Regions from separate parts of the Homo sapiens genome. Here region 2 is linked to region 1. Evidence: promoter capture Hi-C in 16 types of primary human blood cells and fetal thymus (Javierre and others, 2016). All regions are on one chromosome and are shown on one strand. The core of a region is centred on a gene start or on the middle of the fragment in contact, and the rest is flanking DNA. Distances in the headings are between cores, read along the strand shown.

Region 1 (4,198 bases), core at 1,057-3,556:
TCCTTTTCTCACTTTAAAATACCAAGGGGAAAAATTAAACTCAACACAGCACGTCTTGCCCTTGTCAAGATGACAGATCCTCTAAGAGAAGAAACGAATAGGTAATGGCCTTTTCCAGATTTTCTTTTCCTAATGTACCCCACTTCCAACCTACCCCTACCTCAACTAGGGTATCTAGTTGTACCCAAGGGTGCTTCTACATTAGATCCACAGAGATTAAAGATAACAGTTAACAGAATAGTCCAGAGGACAAGGATATTCAAGTTCCATCATCTTCAGGATAAAAAAGCTCCAGGGTTTACCTCCAAACTCTCTCTAAAGGAAATCCCATCAACCTTTTAAACATCACTTTGTATACACCATCTTCTATACTGCCCTAGCTCAAAAACATGAACCTGTATCTAAACGTGTTTGTAGAATTTCCATTGTAAGTTTTACTTTAACAATTTTGAACAATTATAATGATAGAAAATTATTTAATCTAGATTTTGGTCAACTCTATTACTGATATTCTTTTTTAGTGAAGGACAATCACAAACACTAAATTTATACAGTCCAGAGAATGAAAGATTGCTTTAAAAAATTCCTTCCTTTTCTCACTGTAAAATAAAAATACCAAGGGGAAAAATGGAAAGTATTTATTATAACTGGCTGTTACACTGTCATACACAATGAAATACTGGACCATTAGCAGTTCGTTATTATATGTTGTTAAGTGTAGAACTGTAAATAATGAGGCATATTATTAAGATATCACACACATTATCCAATCAGCAAGTGCACAACTTCGGACATTTTGACTTCAGCCAAAATATGAAACAAAGTCATAGCAAGAAAGTTATTTCAAGGGAGTGAAATTTTCTCCTCTTACCCTTCAAATCTTTTAGAGATATTAATAAAAACAACTATCCAGCCTGGGCGATATAATGGGACTCCATCTACATACACACAAAAATTTTTAAAATTCGTTGGGTGTGGCAGCACACGCCTGTAAACCCAGCTACTTGGAAGGCTGAGGCAGAAGGATCCCTTAAGCCGGAGTTAGAGTCTGCGGTGAGCTATGATCTGACCACTGCACTACAGCCTGGGCGATAGAGCGAAACCTTGTAACAACAACAACAACAACAAAATTAAAACCTTCAAGATCAAGCTTGCCCAACAGGATGGCTTTGAATGCCACTCAATGCAAATCTGTAAACTTTCTTAAAACTTTATGAAAAAAAATTTTTTTTTAGCTCATTAGCTACCATTAGTGTTAGTGTATTTATGTGTGGCCCAAGACAATTCTTCTTCCAGTGTGGCCTAGGGAAGCCATAAGGACCCCCTGCGCTAGACTTCAGCAGAAGCCTTGTAACATAAAGAAAACCATACATAAGGCTTTAGATTCTTTTTTTTTTTTTTTTTTGTGACGGAGTCTTGCTCTGTCTCCCAGGCTAGAGTGCAGTGGCACATTCTCGGCTCACTGCAACCTCCGCCTCCCTGGTTCAAGCGATTCTCCTGCCTCAGTCTCCCGAGTAGCTGGGACAGGCACCTGCCACCGCGCCCGGCTAATTTTTCTATTTTTAGTAGAGACGGGGTTTCACCATCTTGACCTGGCTGGCCTCGAACTCCTGACCTCGTGATCCACCCGCCTCGGCCTCCCTAAGTGCTGGGATTACAGACGTGAGCCACCGCGCCCGGCCAGCTTTGGATTCTTTTACCACTTTCCCGAAGGAAAAGGAACTGAAAATATCTAAGGAAGGACTACTACGAATCTTCTCTGAGTGGCAAAAACCAGAGGTTTTTGGAGCTAGGGCTGCAGTTAAGTTGCCAAGGGGCAGAGATGTAAACAGTTCCTGGTTTAGTTAAAATATTTTAATTTTTATTTTTTTAAGCCTGGCCTTTGGGTGAAGGAGTAAAATTAGGCACTGGGGTCTGGGTAGGGGGAGGATACTCATGGGCGAGTATGCAACCCTAGGGCCACAGCACCCAAACTGTAGGGGAAGAGGCGGGGCGAGAGGGGACGAAGTAGAGACAGCAAGAGACTCACTTTTGAAAGGCACTTTCGGTTAGAAAGCATTCTCACATGCTTATCTCATCGCACACAGTATCCTTTCTGCTGGTCTCCAGCATCTACAGACGTTAAAGGCCCAAGAGGAGGGCCACCTTCACACGAGATTCCGAGGAGGGCCTCGCTACCCGCCAGTTCCCGCGCCTCGGCAGTCCGCCGCGAGCGTACGTCACTCGCCCGCCGCCAATCGGCGCCCGGCAGGTCACCTCTCCTCCCAGGGCCCGCCGCCCCGCCCGCCGCCCAGGCCGAGGCCGCCAGTGCCCGCCGGCCGCTTCCGCTCCCGGCGCAGGCGCGGCAGCTTGGCCAGAGCGGAGGGGGCTCGGGAGAGGAGTGGACGCCGCTGGCCAGGATGGTGCTGGAGAGCGTGGCCCGTATCGTGAAGGTGCAGCTCCCTGCATATCTGAAGCGGCTCCCAGTCCCTGAAAGCATTACCGGGTTCGCTAGGCTCACAGGTAATCCTCCCCCATCAGCCAGTCCCCATCCTTGCACGTTCGCCAAGCGGGGGAAGGAGGCGTAAAAATCCTAGGGCCAAGGGGCGGGACGGAGCTCGGCGCCTGGCACGTGATCCCCGCGCGCAGAGGAAGGTGGGCGCGCGCCGACGCAGCTGCCTGGGGAACGCCTGTGAGGCAGTCTCCGGGTGCTTGATGCCCCAGGGTCTTTTGTCCTCGGAGTTGTCTCCGGTGTCATTCCGTGGCAAGATACCAGGTTTTTGCAGAGAAGGTGCTGAGTTGGGAACAGGCCAGTCTCTTTCATCTCCTGTCCTGCTCATCGCTCTCTGTAGCGTACTTGTTTATTTTAAAGCGGGCTAAGTCGTCGTTATCTAAGGCCTCATGTAACAGGCAGCCCCAGCTACCGGCTGGGTTGTACCCTCAGCATGTGGGTGGGAGTGTGTGGGAGAGAAATATAGACTTACACGTAACACGTATATGACCGTTTTATTTAGTAACGAAATTAGGAGATAACCTCCATTCCCTCAGGTTAGAATTGACCTATCATAGGTGGCATTTGAGGTCATCTCCGTTTCTACGGTCCCGGGGCCCGCTGCGGTAACTTAAGTTGGAAGAAAGATACCTTACCCAAGAAAGTATTCGAAGGCCGGTATGAGGAGTGAAATCTTAGAAAATGAAATTTAGTGAATATATGTAACGTTCTATACTTAAGGACCCTCACTTAACCCACACAACTCATGAGGATTTCACATCTAAAGGATGAAAATCTCCAGAATGCAGTCAACACTTGGGAGATTGTGTTGAGTTATGAGCATTTCATTGTAAGGGGGATATTTCTAAACGGAACTCAGACCGAGTAGGATGGTGAAGGAATCAGCAAGTATTGAACTCCTATGTCCTAGGTTATCAGGGAGTGCAAACATGAATTAAGATAATTCTGAGGTAAATAGGGTTGCTTCGCCGGGAACGTTCTAAAGATCTGTAGTACCTGACCTAAAATACAGCAATCGCACAGCTGTCTGGTAGAAGAAAAATAAGATTTGTGTAGACTAAAATATAGAACTGATAACAAATTAACCAAATTAGTGAAGGTTATTGGGAGGTGAATTTCAGTCTAAGGAAGATTTTTTTTTAAATTAAAGAATGCTTTCCCCAAACAAATGTGGTGCTTCAGTGATAGCCCCTCTCAAAGATGAAAAAAACAAACAAAAAGACTCTGGTGGTGGGTGGTCGATAGATTTAGAAGGGATAAACTAGATGACAAATTCTCTTCCAAATCTAGAGATTCATTGAATTATGGTCAGACAGACGCTCTGTTGAGTGGATTGTGAGATTTTAATATTTTTTAAATATTAAGAGTTTTAGTAGAAAACATGCAATTGAATAGAAAGCATGGTAACAATAATAAACATTAAAAAGGAACATTAAACATCAGAAGCAATGCAAAAGTAAAATAAAATGAAAAACGTTTCACATCAAGTGTTTATAAACATCAGATCTTTTGATCCTACCAGTTTACTCTGACAGAATTGCAGCAATTCCATAAAATTTTGGCTTTCCCCACTTCTTTTACTTAAGTACTTTACATATTTTAATATAATCCTCATTTTTTCCCTAACAACTAAATACTTATTTTAGTTTTAACATCACAATGGGCCTAACCATTCATTCCCTTACAACTGGAAATTAGAAATGTTTC
Region 2 (4,652 bases), core at 832-3,331, 3.0 Mb before region 1:
GGTGTCAATTGTGCACACTGACAATGACATAATTTATCACTAAAGTACTAAGTTATCAGTGAGAATCCCTGGGAAATTAGCAATTAAGAAACATATGGTAGAGCACAAATATACTGTGTTAAAAAATATAAGGTGACACTCCTCGACTTTCAACATTTATGCAAAACCCTTTCATTGTTAACATAAATCTTATAGTCCTGTAACTATCTTATGGTATCTATAAACTACAACTCAGAGATATGTTCAATGTCCCTACAGCAACCCGGAATGATCTATTCTTTGTGTTAACTTTAATGTATTAACTAAGGAATAAGAAATACTTATATTAACCTAATGTTTAAATACTGACATTAAATTTTTTAAAATCCCATTGTCAAAAACTTTTAAGTCAGAAAAGTGTTATTAAATATGAATGGAAAATGTTACAAACAAAATCATTTGTCTTCCTTACATTAAAAATAAGAATAAAATAACTTTATAAATGACTTTTATACTATTTTTATCCTATTATTGGCATGATTTCCTAATCATTCAATCCTAAACTTATTTATAGATTAAAATATATCTCTAAGATTAATACATAACATAGGCCGGGCACAGTGGCTGACGCCTGTAATCCCAGCAATTTGGGAGGCCAAGGTGGGCAGATCACCTGAGGTCAGGAGTTTGAGACCAGCCTGGCCAACATGATGAAACCCCGTCTCAGCCAAAAACACAAAAATTAGCTGGGTGTGGTGGTGCTTGTCTGTAATCCCAGCTACTTGGGAGACTGAGGCATAAGAATCGATTGAACCTGGGTTGCAGTGAGCCAAGATTGCGCCACTGCACTCCCAGCCTGGGTGACAGAACGAGAGTCTGTCTCAACAACAACAACAAAAAGATTAATACATAAAATAAATATATTCTTCTAAGTTAAAAACTAGGTTATATAAAACATATACTACAGATATTTGTACATAAGCCAATTATTTTGTGCAGTTACCAAAAGCAACATCATTTGAAACAGTAAAGCATTACAAATCCAACTGTCCATCAAGAAGGACAAGGTAAGTTATGATATACACCTACAAAGGAATACTCTGGAATACTCTGCAGCCATGAGAAAGAGGAAGTTCTCTATGTACCAGGAAAGATTACTCTCAAAGTTACATTCTTAAGTGAAAAAATACACAGTTTAGAACAGTGTATAGAAGAAGCAATAAATTATGTACCAAAATATGCAGGCATATGTGTATGTTGTGTGTATAAATACGTGTATATACATGTCTGCTCATAGGTACATAAAATATCTCTGTAGGTAATGGTGGGTGCCTCTTTGAGGGGAAACTGTGCATGTGGCTGGAGAGGAAGGATGGGCAGCTTCTCACTCTATGTTCTTCAGTTAAGTCTTGAATCTGAACTCTGTGAATGTACTACTTACCCCCAAAATAAATTAAAAAGCAGGTAAAAAGAGGACCACAAAAATGTTTAGAAAAATTAGTGCCACCACAGGTAGCTTCTTTTTTTAAATTTCCATGGAAATTACTTTAAATACAACTAATGCTCCAAAGAAAATAAAAGGACTTTCTTTTTGATGGACTTCACAGAGAAATGAATCAAGAAAGTAGAAAAATTACTTACACTCTTAAGTATATAATTTTAGAAATCAGGTCACAAATATAAAAGCTGTTTTCAATTCTACATACAATGCGCAAAGAGTAATATAAATAGAATTTACTAATAATTAAAAATAACTGGCTCATTAAGAGATACTACACTTTTAGAAGAAATGAATTAAATTTTGTGAAATATTCTGAAGAAATCTAAACCTTAAGCTTACTAAAACAACCATTTTTTTCTAAAAACAAATGTTGCATTACTAATCAAAGACATCGGATTTAGTTTTATACACATAATTATGAAATATTTGGTTGTTTTAAAACATACAAAGTGGGATTATTAAAGCCTGAGACTGCTTTGGGTCACAACCAGATTTTAAATTGCAAATACAAGAACGATATTTTGCAGAGAATTCAAAAAACGCACAAAAACACACATTCCATTAGTATCCGTAGCTGGCTGACTTTGTTACTGAGAGGCACTGAGGTACAACAGTTAAAAGCATGAATCCATGGCTCTGAAGCAGGATGCCTGCATCCAAACCCATACATCTAGCAACAAATCAAAGCGTATATTCTACTATTCTTCATAAATGTTCAAAACATTATTATTTCTTCATTATTACTGTTCTGGGATGCAATAAGCCTATTTTCAATAAATGATATAATGAGTTGAACTGGCTTTTTTTCATTATTAAAAAAAAAACTGACAGTACTAATACCTTTCCTGCCATTATGAAAGATTTTCATAAAGCTTTTAACAAATATCCTTTAACTGAATTTATTTCTTGGATAAGCACAACAACCTGATATTTCCCCTTTTGTTAAAAGATAAGAGACATCTAAATTCAAAGAAGAAGCAAGCATTTACTTTCCAACTATTTTTGATCAACATTAGAACTACTCAGTAATATAATAAATACTTTTGGTATTATTCTCTAATTCCTTTACACAGACAGCTTCATCATATCCAGTGTCACACGCTATTATGATTTTGAGAGCACACTTAATAGTTAAAATGAGATCCCCATTGTCTGAAACATTTTTATTGCTTATAATCACAGATGATGTAATTAGAATCAATTATTGCTTTATTAGATCTCCAGGTGACTAATGAGTATCTTTCTGGTCGGTTTATAACTTAAGAACATTGAATGCAATTTTGCTGTTTCTTCAATAAGAGATGCTAACACTCAAAAGAGGACTGTAAATCACTAAGACTTCTAAGTGAATTAACTATGTACTATTAACTATTTCATCATATCACCAGCGTAGTGGGGTATCTCTCCGTCCCAATTTGAGCGCCCTTTCATTACGCTAAGGTAACTACAGAAAAACACAGAAAGCCCTCATTTTGCATAGTTCCAATATGCACATTTTAGTTACTATGGTTAAGTAATACCACTCCCTGCAGAAGAGCACAGGTCAAATTTTAGTTAGCATGGCATAATACCTCAATAACTACGTAAAGTATAAACTTTTCTAACTCTTTAGTCCACAAATCACTACATAAATAATTATGTAATTAACAGATGCACACTGTCATCAGTAACCAGCCACATCATTTCTTTCAAAGTATGTTGATGGTTGGTCACTGTGCATCTGTTATGCAGCTCATGCAGAGATAGCAAAGCATGTAGTTTTGTACCTCCTTGTCTCCCAATGATAAAGTATGTGACATTTAGAAAAAGAGATAATAAAAAGAGGAAACTGGCCAACAAAGACGAAATACAGCAAAGAAATGAAAAGTAATAATGCTGAAATTTCAAATAGAAATGCTGAATTTCAAATAGAAAGTAAAGAATTATAGAAGAAACAGATGACCAAGGGAATGCTGACACTATCGCTCTAGATACACAGAGAACTCAGTGAAGGCAAACTTATTGACATAAATGAGGAAAGCGGTTGTGACGAAAATTTTCCAGAGGACGTGAGGCTGGCAAAAAATATTCATATTAAAGGAAATCTCAGAGATACTTCACAACATGGAAAATACAGACAAAATGCTTCATAAAATTAACATATGGCATATAGAATTTATTCAATAACAAATTAAAAATTTCTTACCTTGGTAACTTTTTATACAAGAATCGCTTTAGGTCCTGAAAGAGAGCATTAAAAAATAATGTTGTAATAATAGGCCTTCCACTGTTTTCTAGATCCTGTCCTATCCAAATTTTAAGGAACTTCAGTTATCATTCATAACCTTTCTTGCTGTGTTTTATCTTTCTCTGTCTGATTTGGATGTTTACTAGTCACGCAACTTGGAGTAAGTTAACCAACCTTTTTTCGCTAAGCTTATTTCATTATTTGTTGAATAGGGCTAATATAGAACCTACATCATAAAAGTGTTGTTAAAAGTTTATTGAGAAGATGCATGGATTAGCATACCTAGAAATGGGAAACACATTTTAGCCATAAAATTACATCATAATTTTCATACTAGTGTTTTACATCCTGTTGCTATTGTGTTCACTTGAGAAGACGTTATAAACACCTTTCCATGTTCAAAGATAGACTTTCCACCATCATCTTAATGGTCTTGGGTAAGGTGATATGACCTCTGTAAGACTGTTGTCTCACGTGACTATCACATTATAAAAATATGCCTTCCATTGTTTCATTATTTGTTGAACTCACCTACTCAACAAATAATGAAACAGTGTAAGGCATATTATTATAACGTAATTTTTAAAATATTTTGTTTAAGGACCTAAAATAAATTCTATATGACTATGTGAGGCAACATTTTTTTTTTTTTTTGAGACGGAGTTTCGCTCTTGTTGTCCAGGCTGGAGTGCAATGGCGCGATCTCGGCTCACTGCGACCTCTGCCTCCCAGGTTCAAACGATTCTCCTGCCTCAACCTCCCGAGTAGCTGGGATTACAAGCACCTGCCACCATGCCCAGCTAATTTTTTGTATTTTTAGAAAAGACAACGTTTTACCATGTTGGCCAGGCTGGTCTCGAACTCCTGACCTCAGGTGATCCACCCGCCTTGGCCTCCCAAAGTGCTGGGATTACAGACGTGAGCCACCGCGCCCAGCCCAGTGTT

What was found. Contacts are between HindIII fragments. The CHiCAGO score rates a contact against its expected background, and 5 or more counts as called.
Region 2: a contact is called between a fragment that was not itself captured here and the fragment with the promoter of CISD2 in region 1, in 1 of 17 cell types (total B cells). The highest score is 5.0, in total B cells.

The regions. Positions count from the first base shown.
Region 1 is chr4:102,866,686-102,870,883 of GRCh38, forward strand. CISD2 (CDGSH iron sulfur domain 2) reads left to right here and starts at 2,307. Exons shown (of 3, transcript NM_001008388.5): 1 at 2,307-2,502. The coding sequence starts at 2,400. It also overlaps a transcript of UBE2D3 not described here. RefSeq lists an enhancer at 1,758-1,897 and silencers at 2,128-2,417, 2,448-2,567. The HindIII fragment of the contact is 11,662 bases long and covers 1,149-4,198 here.
Region 2 is chr4:99,888,335-99,892,986 of GRCh38, forward strand. It overlaps LAMTOR3 (late endosomal/lysosomal adaptor, MAPK and MTOR activator 3), which reads right to left. Exons shown (of 7, transcript NM_021970.4): 3 at 3,666-3,700. Among named protein-coding and RNA genes, the nearest start is that of LAMTOR3, 3.8 kb to the right of the region's middle. The HindIII fragment of the contact is 538 bases long and covers 1,813-2,350 here.